2 separate regions of the Homo sapiens genome follow, and region 1 is linked to region 2. Evidence: promoter capture Hi-C in 16 types of primary human blood cells and fetal thymus (Javierre and others, 2016). All regions are on one chromosome and are shown on one strand. The core of a region is centred on a gene start or on the middle of the fragment in contact, and the rest is flanking DNA. Distances in the headings are between cores, read along the strand shown. Region 1 overlaps TRD-AS1 (TRD antisense RNA 1). Region 2 holds the start of OXA1L (OXA1L mitochondrial inner membrane insertase).

Evidence for each region. The method cuts DNA at HindIII sites, captures the fragments that hold promoters and counts their contacts. A CHiCAGO score of 5 or more calls a contact.
Region 1: a fragment that was not itself captured here is called in contact with the fragment with the promoter of OXA1L in region 2 in 3 of 17 cell types (endothelial precursors, total B cells and naive B cells); the score reaches 8.1 in endothelial precursors.

The regions. Positions count from the first base shown.
Region 1 is chr14:22,390,232-22,394,761 of GRCh38, forward strand. The region is part of intron 2 of TRD-AS1 (TRD antisense RNA 1); the gene reads right to left. It also overlaps TRA. Among named protein-coding and RNA genes, the nearest start is that of TRD-AS1, 90 kb to the right of the region's middle. The HindIII fragment of the contact is 4,039 bases long and covers 851-4,530 here.
Region 2 is chr14:22,764,034-22,768,107 of GRCh38, forward strand. It overlaps OXA1L (OXA1L mitochondrial inner membrane insertase), which reads left to right and starts at 2,655. Exons shown (of 10, transcript NM_005015.5): 1 at 2,655-2,731; 2 at 3,215-3,376; 3 at 3,925-4,074. The coding sequence starts at 2,669. OXA1L-DT (OXA1L divergent transcript) reads right to left here and starts at 2,529. Exons shown (of 3, transcript XR_001750638.3): 1 at 2,391-2,529. RefSeq lists enhancers at 1,250-1,813, 1,814-2,376, 2,377-2,940, 2,534-2,763. The HindIII fragment of the contact is 1,636 bases long and covers 2,146-3,781 here.

The DNA of each region.
Region 1 (4,530 bases), core at 1,620-4,119, 370 kb before region 2:
AAGGGAGTGGCAAAGGACATGTAGGAGAGAATCAGTTCCACCCCATGCCTGCACATTTCATTTTCTGAAATGAAAAGCTCTCATACACTCACAGAGATCTGCACATACCCACACATGGAAATAGCATAAACAGCTACTCTTTACTGAGCAGTGACCACGTGTCAGGCACAATGCCTCGGGCTTCACATGCATCATCTCTAATCCTCATCGACGTTCTGGGTGTGGGAGTGAAGGCATCCCTGTTTTATGGATGAGGAACCTAAGGTCAGAAAGGCTAAGAAACTTTCTTAAGATTGAACAACTATGGTAGAAGAGCTACAATTCTAGATGGTTGGATTCCAAAGCATCATCTCTTAACCACTGTACTATGGGGCAATATGCTTATAAGCAAGTGCTTACTCTGTTGGAGGCACTGGGGTTATGAGATAGTGCAGGAAAGACATAGTTATTCACTTCGCAAAGCTTCATTTTTACCGCACACTCATGCACACAGTGCTACACACACACATGCAGAGTTACTATAACTGTGGTGTCTTCCAAGAGCCCTGTCACTAAGGTATCCTCAGTGTCGTACTCTCAGTCCTCCTGCACTTGAACCACAGTTTGAATTGTGCATAGGGTAAAGACTGAGGTCTTCTACAGAAAGGCCTAAGCTGCTTGAACTTTACAGACAATTATGTGAGCAATTCAACCTTTTATACATTATGCTGTAGTTACCCAGCTCCTGAACTAGTCATCAGGTATTTTATTTGTTTTTTAACGTGATCAGGAAGTTTCTCTGACTCATTTCTCTATCTTTGCAGAGGAACAAGGTAGGAGAGCAACAGGGGCAGGAACAGAGAGGATTTCAAGCTTGATGAAGGTTCAGTAAGTCAAGTCATAGGTCAACTAGAAGAAATAAAGCAGGGGAAGATTTGGGGTGGGGCTGAAGCTCCATTGTTTCCATGACACCATAAGATAAGTGGTGATCTAGGTGATCTAGGTGTGCAAAGGTGAAACAAAACGAAAGACGCAAACATTGTACTAGTTTCAGGTTTTGCCAAGAGCAGATTGGCTGCCAAGGCTACTTCAGCCTTGACTCATATAGATCCATGATCTGGGAGGCAAGACAGCGTCCTGCTGTGCTGGACATCTCAGTGACATTGACCCAACTGGGGGAACTCCCTGAGGTTAAGAAAACCTCCCTCCAAGGCTGAGTTAATGAACTACCTAGATGTAAGACAGGAGACTGAAAACATTTAAGTCCCAGGAAAAATGCAGACTTACCTTCTTATGACCTAGATCTCTTTGCAAATCTAATGAAAAAGGTTTGTTATGCACAAATGTTTCCCTCCAATTTTATTTCAGGAGATTTGTGCTCTTTCCTGGACTGCCCCTGAACCTGGAGGTAATAATTCTAGATCAAAGTCTCCCTAGAACCTTGAAAAGGGTGGACTGAGAAGACTGGATATACAGCTCTAGGCAACCAGTCCTCCACTGCCACCACCATGCTTTCTAATCTCCAGGGGAGCCTGGTCATCTTGCTGGACAATTGCTGTTTCTCCTGACAAAATCCAAGTTAGGAAACTGACAGGGTCTTTGTTTCTATTTCTCTCTATGCCTATCTCTCAAGGTGCCCTGTCATTAATGAATCTTAATCCTCACTTTTATTTCTCAACTCTGGCTCCCAATTTCTGTTTTCCCACCCCTCATCTGGGGGAGCCACCCGGAACCCCCTCATTAATCCACAGACAGCCATCTCAGGACTTCATGCTAAGAATTCATTGTTTCCCACTTTCCTGCATTTGAACACTGGAGGGCAATGCTGGACCAGCCAAAGCACTCTAGGTGCTCCGCTCCATCTTTGTCTCAACCTTGCCTGTCATTTCAGGAAGCAGCCTCTGGTTGGAAGCCAAAACCAAGGACCAGTGGAGCGCCCATAGGCTAGCAGAACAGCTAGGTCTATTACAGCATCTCCCCCACACGGGATCATAGGAATAAAAGGTAGCTCACGGAAAAGCACATCTGGTTTCATGGGTGACACAATCCCCTGGGAAAGAAACTGAGCGGGGTGCTTGCCTAACTGTGTCATTAACCAGAAACAATCTGTGTCTCTGACTAGGGGATGCAGATTCCTACCTGTCTTCACTCACTCAGATGTAAGCCCCTGGAGGGTAATGTCTTAGTAAGGTCTGCATTCCTGTAGCAAGCACAGTGTTTGGCAACAAATACTTGCTGGATGAATAAATGGATGAATGCGTGTATGGATACATATGTATAAAATGGAACTGGCCATTTTCAGATTTGTTGTTGTTTTCTAGCTCTTATGACACCCAAAGTTTAAATCATTAATCAGTTGCTGAGCATTCTTAGTCTTAAAGACAACTAAGGATGGTCAGGTGGTTAATTAAATCAGTGGTTGTCATTGTACAAATGTTATTTCAAACACCACTTCAAGAGTTTCAGGTCTCTTATTTTTAGGAAGTCCTTCATTGTGTCATCCATGTGTCCTCAGACCTCACCAGCCTGTGGATTACAAAATACAGACACTATTTCATTAATATTCAATTTACAAGAACCTGCGGGCTCATCATGTGGAATATTGAGTATCCGTGATGTCCCCAAGTGATTTGTGGGCATTTCATGTGCCACAGTGGGTCCCCACGGGGCTTGACAGTTCCATGGAGCCAGAGCTCTTCTTCAGGCCATCTTTCATCATCTTGTGAGACTTTTCTCCAGGCTGCTCTCCCCTCTACCTTCACCACAATGGATCCCATGTCAGGTGGACATGGTCTACTCTCTTAATCATTCAAAGCACTGCTAAATGTTTGAGGAAGAAAGAAGAGCACATTTTGAGACCCAAAACCCAACTTGAGACTCTTTCTACCTCCAGGCAGGCTTACGCATAGCAAAGACCAGCTCAAGGCGCCCGGTAGAAGTCTGCAGGCATCTCCATATCTCCAAGTGCAGAGAGCAGAGGAGATTTTTTCTTCTCAGTCCAAGACTAGTTCTTTTCCTGCCCTGGGATGATTGACAGTGAGAAAAAACATTTCCTCCAGGGAAGCGCTCTACCTGCCCCTCCACCTTCTCAGACGGGGCCCGACCTTCATGACCCCGACAAAGCAAACCTGGTGCTCAACTGTCTTATTAGATCTTCTAACACTATGTGTGTGACATCAACAGCCCTAACTAAATTCACACTTGGGAAAAATATGCCCCTCATTCTAACTAAACAGACACCATTTAATTTTCCTAACAGAACACTTACTATTTTGATGCACGACACCTGTTTTCAGTTTTATGATAACTTCATAATCTCCAATACAATGAGTGAGTGTTTATTTGAAATGAGAATAACCTCATTCTCAACTAGTTTTCTCAACAGAAGAAGAGTGCTCAAAGTTCATCTAGGGTCTTTACCTACAGAAATTCAATGCTGTCAGCAATCTTCAAGGAGCAGCTCTGCCAAAGGAAAAAGAAAGAAAGAAAAAAGGAAATCCTGCTTTTATAAGTTATCCCTATTATTAAAATTTCTAACAAATCTCTCCCTACAGTTCAAACCTAGGTCCCCAGAGTATATGGGCCTCATCCTTCTCATAAAAATGCTGTTAAAAAAAAAAGGTGTCCTTTGACACCTTTCCTGAGTGCAAACAGAGATTGAAAAAAATCATTCTAAAATAACATTTTTCTGTCACTGCCCAATGGGAGGTGAGTTGATCATAGGTGAAGCATGTCCTATTAGTATGTCTTGCTCAGGATGCCTTTGGTGTGAGTAAGGGATGGGTTTCTAGGGCAAAATCTCTGTTCTATACCCGCAAAAAACAATGTACAGAAATTTCCCTAAGAGAGGAGATTGGCAGTCAATACATAAGACTCCATAGGCAGGAAGTGTCCAGGGTCAGCTCCCTGCATTCAAATACAGACCTGCATCAGGGCTGTGATTTCCAGGTCCAAGGCTCGGTGAGTGGATAATACCTAAGGCCTGATGCCAGGCCTGATGTCCAGGTTTAACACTGATGGCAGGCCACAGACCCTCCTGTCTTGGGATTCCAAAAAGCCCAGAATCTTTCCCAGTTCCTACTGACACTAACTTTTGCCCGGGCAAGAAGTGTCTGAGATTGCTTCCCTTGAGACCATAGTCCTTTCTTATAATTCCAAAACTAAGCAGCCCTGTTTATGCTGCTGTGGCAGAGCATGGAATCTTGGTTAGTCCTTCCAAACTGCACCCATTGGGTTATCCCTGGGGAAATGATCACATTACGCTACTTTGTTGAACACTGAGGACTCCAATAAGGACTGTGAATCCCAACTATTTCTGGTGTGGGAGCCAGGGCTTTCAGGTCATTCACCAGAAATTATCCAACCAGAAAACTTTCTTTCAAGTTCTGTTCAAAGTCCAGCAGTTTGCCTACAGGATTCAGATGAGACTTCTAAGAATCATCTGTGTCTTGGATAGAGCACCCTGGCAGCCTCTTGAAAATCAATTCCCTAAGAAACCTATCTTTTAGAAATGGACCTTCACAAAGCCAGTGAGAGAATGGGAGGAGTATG
Region 2 (4,074 bases), core at 1,405-3,904:
CCCACCTCGGCCTCCCAAAGTGCTAGGATTACAGGCATGAGCCACCACACCCGGCCTAGTATTTTTTTTTTTAAGAGATGGGGTCTTACCATGTTACCAAGGTTGGTCTCAAACTCCTGAGCTCAAGCGATCCACCTGCCTCAGCCTCCCAAAGTGCTGAGATTACAGGCCTGAGCCACCATGCCGGCCCAACATAACTTTTATATGCACTGCAAAACAAAAAAATCCCTGTGACTCACTTTATTATGATATTGGCTTTATTGTAGTGGTCTGGAACCCAACCCACAGTATCTTCCAAGTTTGCCTGTACATTTTAGCTATCTATTATTAAACAACTTAGTGGCTTAAAACTACAATAATTTTATTTATTTGCTTGTAATTTTGCAATGTGGGCTCAAATAGCCTTTCTTTGCTCCACACGCAGTCACCTGAGGTGGCTCCAGTGGGCTGGAGAATCCACTTTTTAAATGGCCTTCTTCACGTGGCTGGCAAAAGTTGGTGTTGACTGCTGGCTGGGAGTTCAACTGAGGCTGTTGGCCCAAACCTCAGTTCTTCTTCACATGGTTGGTTGGGCTTTTCACAGGCAGTAAGTCTGAGAAGTCAAACTTCTAACACAGCAGCTGGCTTCCCCCGAATGCAAAAACAGAAGCTATCAGGCCTTCTTAAGGCATAGTCCCAAACTGGCATAACATCACTTCCAACGCATTCTACTATTGATTAAAGCAAGTGACAGGCCCAATCAGACTCAAGAGAAGAGAACTCCTAAAGGTGCAAATATTGGGAAGCCTGGTTCATTTGGGGCCACCAAAGTAGCAGTGTACTGTAAGATAGTCACCCTGCCAAGTGTTCTGTAGCTGTATATTTGTAATTACTTCTAATTGTATTGAGTTTTAAAAGTAATCTCTAAAAAAAAATCAGTGTTTCCATATCAAAAATCTATTGATGTTTATAATAGCATCCAACATATGCAAGTGTTAGCTCATACCACTAATTATTACTAAATCAGTATTATAGTTCTTTGCCTCCTATTTTCGCCATATCTGTCAGGTACATTCATAATCGTTCCAAATGAGCAGTCACTGAAATAATTTCAGGTTATTGTATCTTTCTGAAACTATAATTTGTTGTTTAGAAAGTAATCTGCATATTGAGAGACTTTGTAAGGGTTCAAACATAATCAAACTCCACCTTTCTGACCAGTAACTTTTTTCCCTGAAGATGAATGCTTTTAACTTCAAGAAACAGAACACCCAAGCAACAGACTTAGAGTCTAAACAGTAAAGACCTTTAATCATCTTTTTTTTTTTTTTTTTGAGATGGAGTCTGTCGCCCAGGCTAGAGTGAGGTGGCTCCACCTCGGCTCACTGCAACCTCCACCTCCCGGATTCAAGCGATTCTCCTGCCTCAGCCTCCCTAGTAGCTGGGACTACAGGTATGCACCACCACGCCCGCCTAGTTATTTTGTTTTTTTGTTTTTTGTATTTTTAGTAGAGACAGGATTTCACCATGTTGGCCAGGCTGGTCTCGATCTCTTGACCTAGTTATCGAGACCACCTCAGCCTCCCAAAGTGATGAGATTACAGGTATGAGCCACTGCACCCGGCCAAGACCTTTAATTAACTTACACAACAAAGTCTGGAGATAGGCAGTTCCAAGCATGGTACAGCAGCTCAATGATATCATCAAGTATTTGGGTGTTTTCTATCTTTGCCCTCAACCATCTTCAGCACGTGAGTTTTTCTTTCCTTTTTTTTTTTTTTTTTGAGACGGAGTCTCGCTCTTGTTGCCCAGGCTGGAGTGCAGTGGCACAATCCCGGCTCACTGCAACCTCTGCATCCCGGGTTCAAGTGATTCTCCTGCCTCAGCCTCCCGAGTAGCTGGGATTACAGGCGCCCACCACCACGCCCGGCTAATTTTTGTATTTTTAGTAGAAATGGGGTTTCACCATGTTGGCCAGGATGGTCTCGACCTCCTGATCTCGTGATCCACCCACCTCGGCCTCCCAAAGTACTGGGATTACAGACCTGAGCCACCGCGCCCGGCCTGCACGTGAGCTTTTCATCTGGAAACTTGTCCCCTCATGGTCAGTCCTCACACCACCCCACTTACAGAAGAAAAAAATGGAAAGGTGAAGTCTCCTCTGGAAGCTTCGTCTTTTTATCTGGGAGGAAAATATTTCCCAGAAGCTGCCTTCTTTTAATTTCTGTCAGACTCTAGACTACCCTCAAATTTCACTGGACCTGCGATTACAATATTACCTAGCAATAAGAATCAAAAGAATCGAACATCATTGAGTGGGAAAAATCCTCTGCAAGTACAGCCAAGCCTTTTCTGAGGCTATTTTTAAACTTACAAATCAGAGGACAATCGCGACATTAGAGGAAAATTACCCAGGTTTACGCCATCACTAACGATGATAGCTTACGATGATAGCTAACCCAGCTCTTCAACTTCCTTTCAATCTCCAGAAAAGGCTCTCTGCGTGCTAATGGTAACGTGGCTTTACAGATTTTTACCCACTTCAAATATGGCCGCCAAGCTCCGTTCTCTTTTACCGCCTGATCTGCGGCTACAATTCTGGCTTCATGCCCGCCTCCAAAAGTGCTTCCTCTCGAGGGGTTGTGGTTCTTACTGCGCAGGCGCAAAAGCAAGTCCTCTTCCGGGCAAAATGGCGATGGGACTAATGTGCGGACGCCGGGAGCTTCTGCGCTTGCTACAGTCCGGGCGTCGGGTAAGGATGCCCCGGGGCAGAGCACCGGGATGCTGCCCTGACCCAGTGAACCAGGCCCCAGGACAGCTCGTGCTAGGGGTATCAGCAGACGCTGACCTGCTCACCGGGACCTGAATGTCATGACCTCGGGTCATGTGAGGACGCGCTAGGGTTAGTCCCCGACACTATGGGCCCAGCAGCCCGGTGTCAGCTTCTGGAATTGGCTTGGCTCCTGGCGAGAGCACCTCGGCCTCGTTCTCAGGGCCCTCCGATGTGGGTCTGCGATAACTGAGATGCGGGGAACCCAGGTTCGAGCTTCGCTCTGCAGGCACCACCCGCTGCATGCCTTCGGGCTAGCGGTCTGCGCGCGGTGATAGCAATGTCCTCCCCTGTAGTGGCCGAGCTGCCTGCTTCTTGGGGAGTTAGCATAATGAATCCCGTTTGCACCCACGCGAGGACTTCTGCTCCCGGTAAAGGGGCTCCATCATCCTTTTACACGCTCAGGTCCACAGCGTCGCAGGGCCCTCGCAATGGCTTGGGAAACCGCTGACCACACGGCTCCTATTCCCAGCAGCCCCGTGCTGCTGTCGCCCACACTACCTCTTCCTTGCGGCTTCCGGCCCCCGCAGCCTCAGTACCTCTGCTATCTCTTTTGCAGAAGTCCAGGTAAGAGGCCTTTCGTTCCTGCAATATTAGGAGTGGTGTTTCCTGGTTGGTTTCATATTTTGTTTTGTTTGGGAGCAGGGGGAATATGGAGCAGAGTTCTTGTCCACGCTCCACACAGCTCTCCAAAATGATAGCATCTCTGCTTAGGATGGATTTTCAATTCAGTGGGGAAATGATTGAAAGTACAACAGGAGAGATGTTATATTTGGTTTTCTGAGCTGTTTTAAAGAAAAGCAATTGTTTCATGTTAATATATGGCAAAAATCATGATAGTGATATTCAAATGGCTGAAGTTTGGAAAACAGTGATAAAAGAAATAACTTCCCAGCATGAAGGGAAGTCATGGATTCTTACTCAAAGTAACTTCTCTTCCTAACTATTGATAAAAATGAGATGTCCTTTTTAAGCTTGAAATCTGCAGACACTAGGCTAACCTGGAAGAACAAGAAGTAGAGAGAACAGAACCCAGTACTGGTTATTATAAAAAGATCTCACTTGCTTTGTGTTCGCTACTGAATAAATATAATACAAGGCTTTCTTTCACACAGGTTCAGGCCCCTCCTGTTGTTGCTGCAACTCCCTCACCCACAGCAGTACCTGAGGTGGCTTCTGGAGAGACTGCAGATGTAGTCCAAACTGCTGCAGAGCAGAGCTTCGCTGAACTGGGGCTGGGGTCATACACCCCAGTGGGACTGATC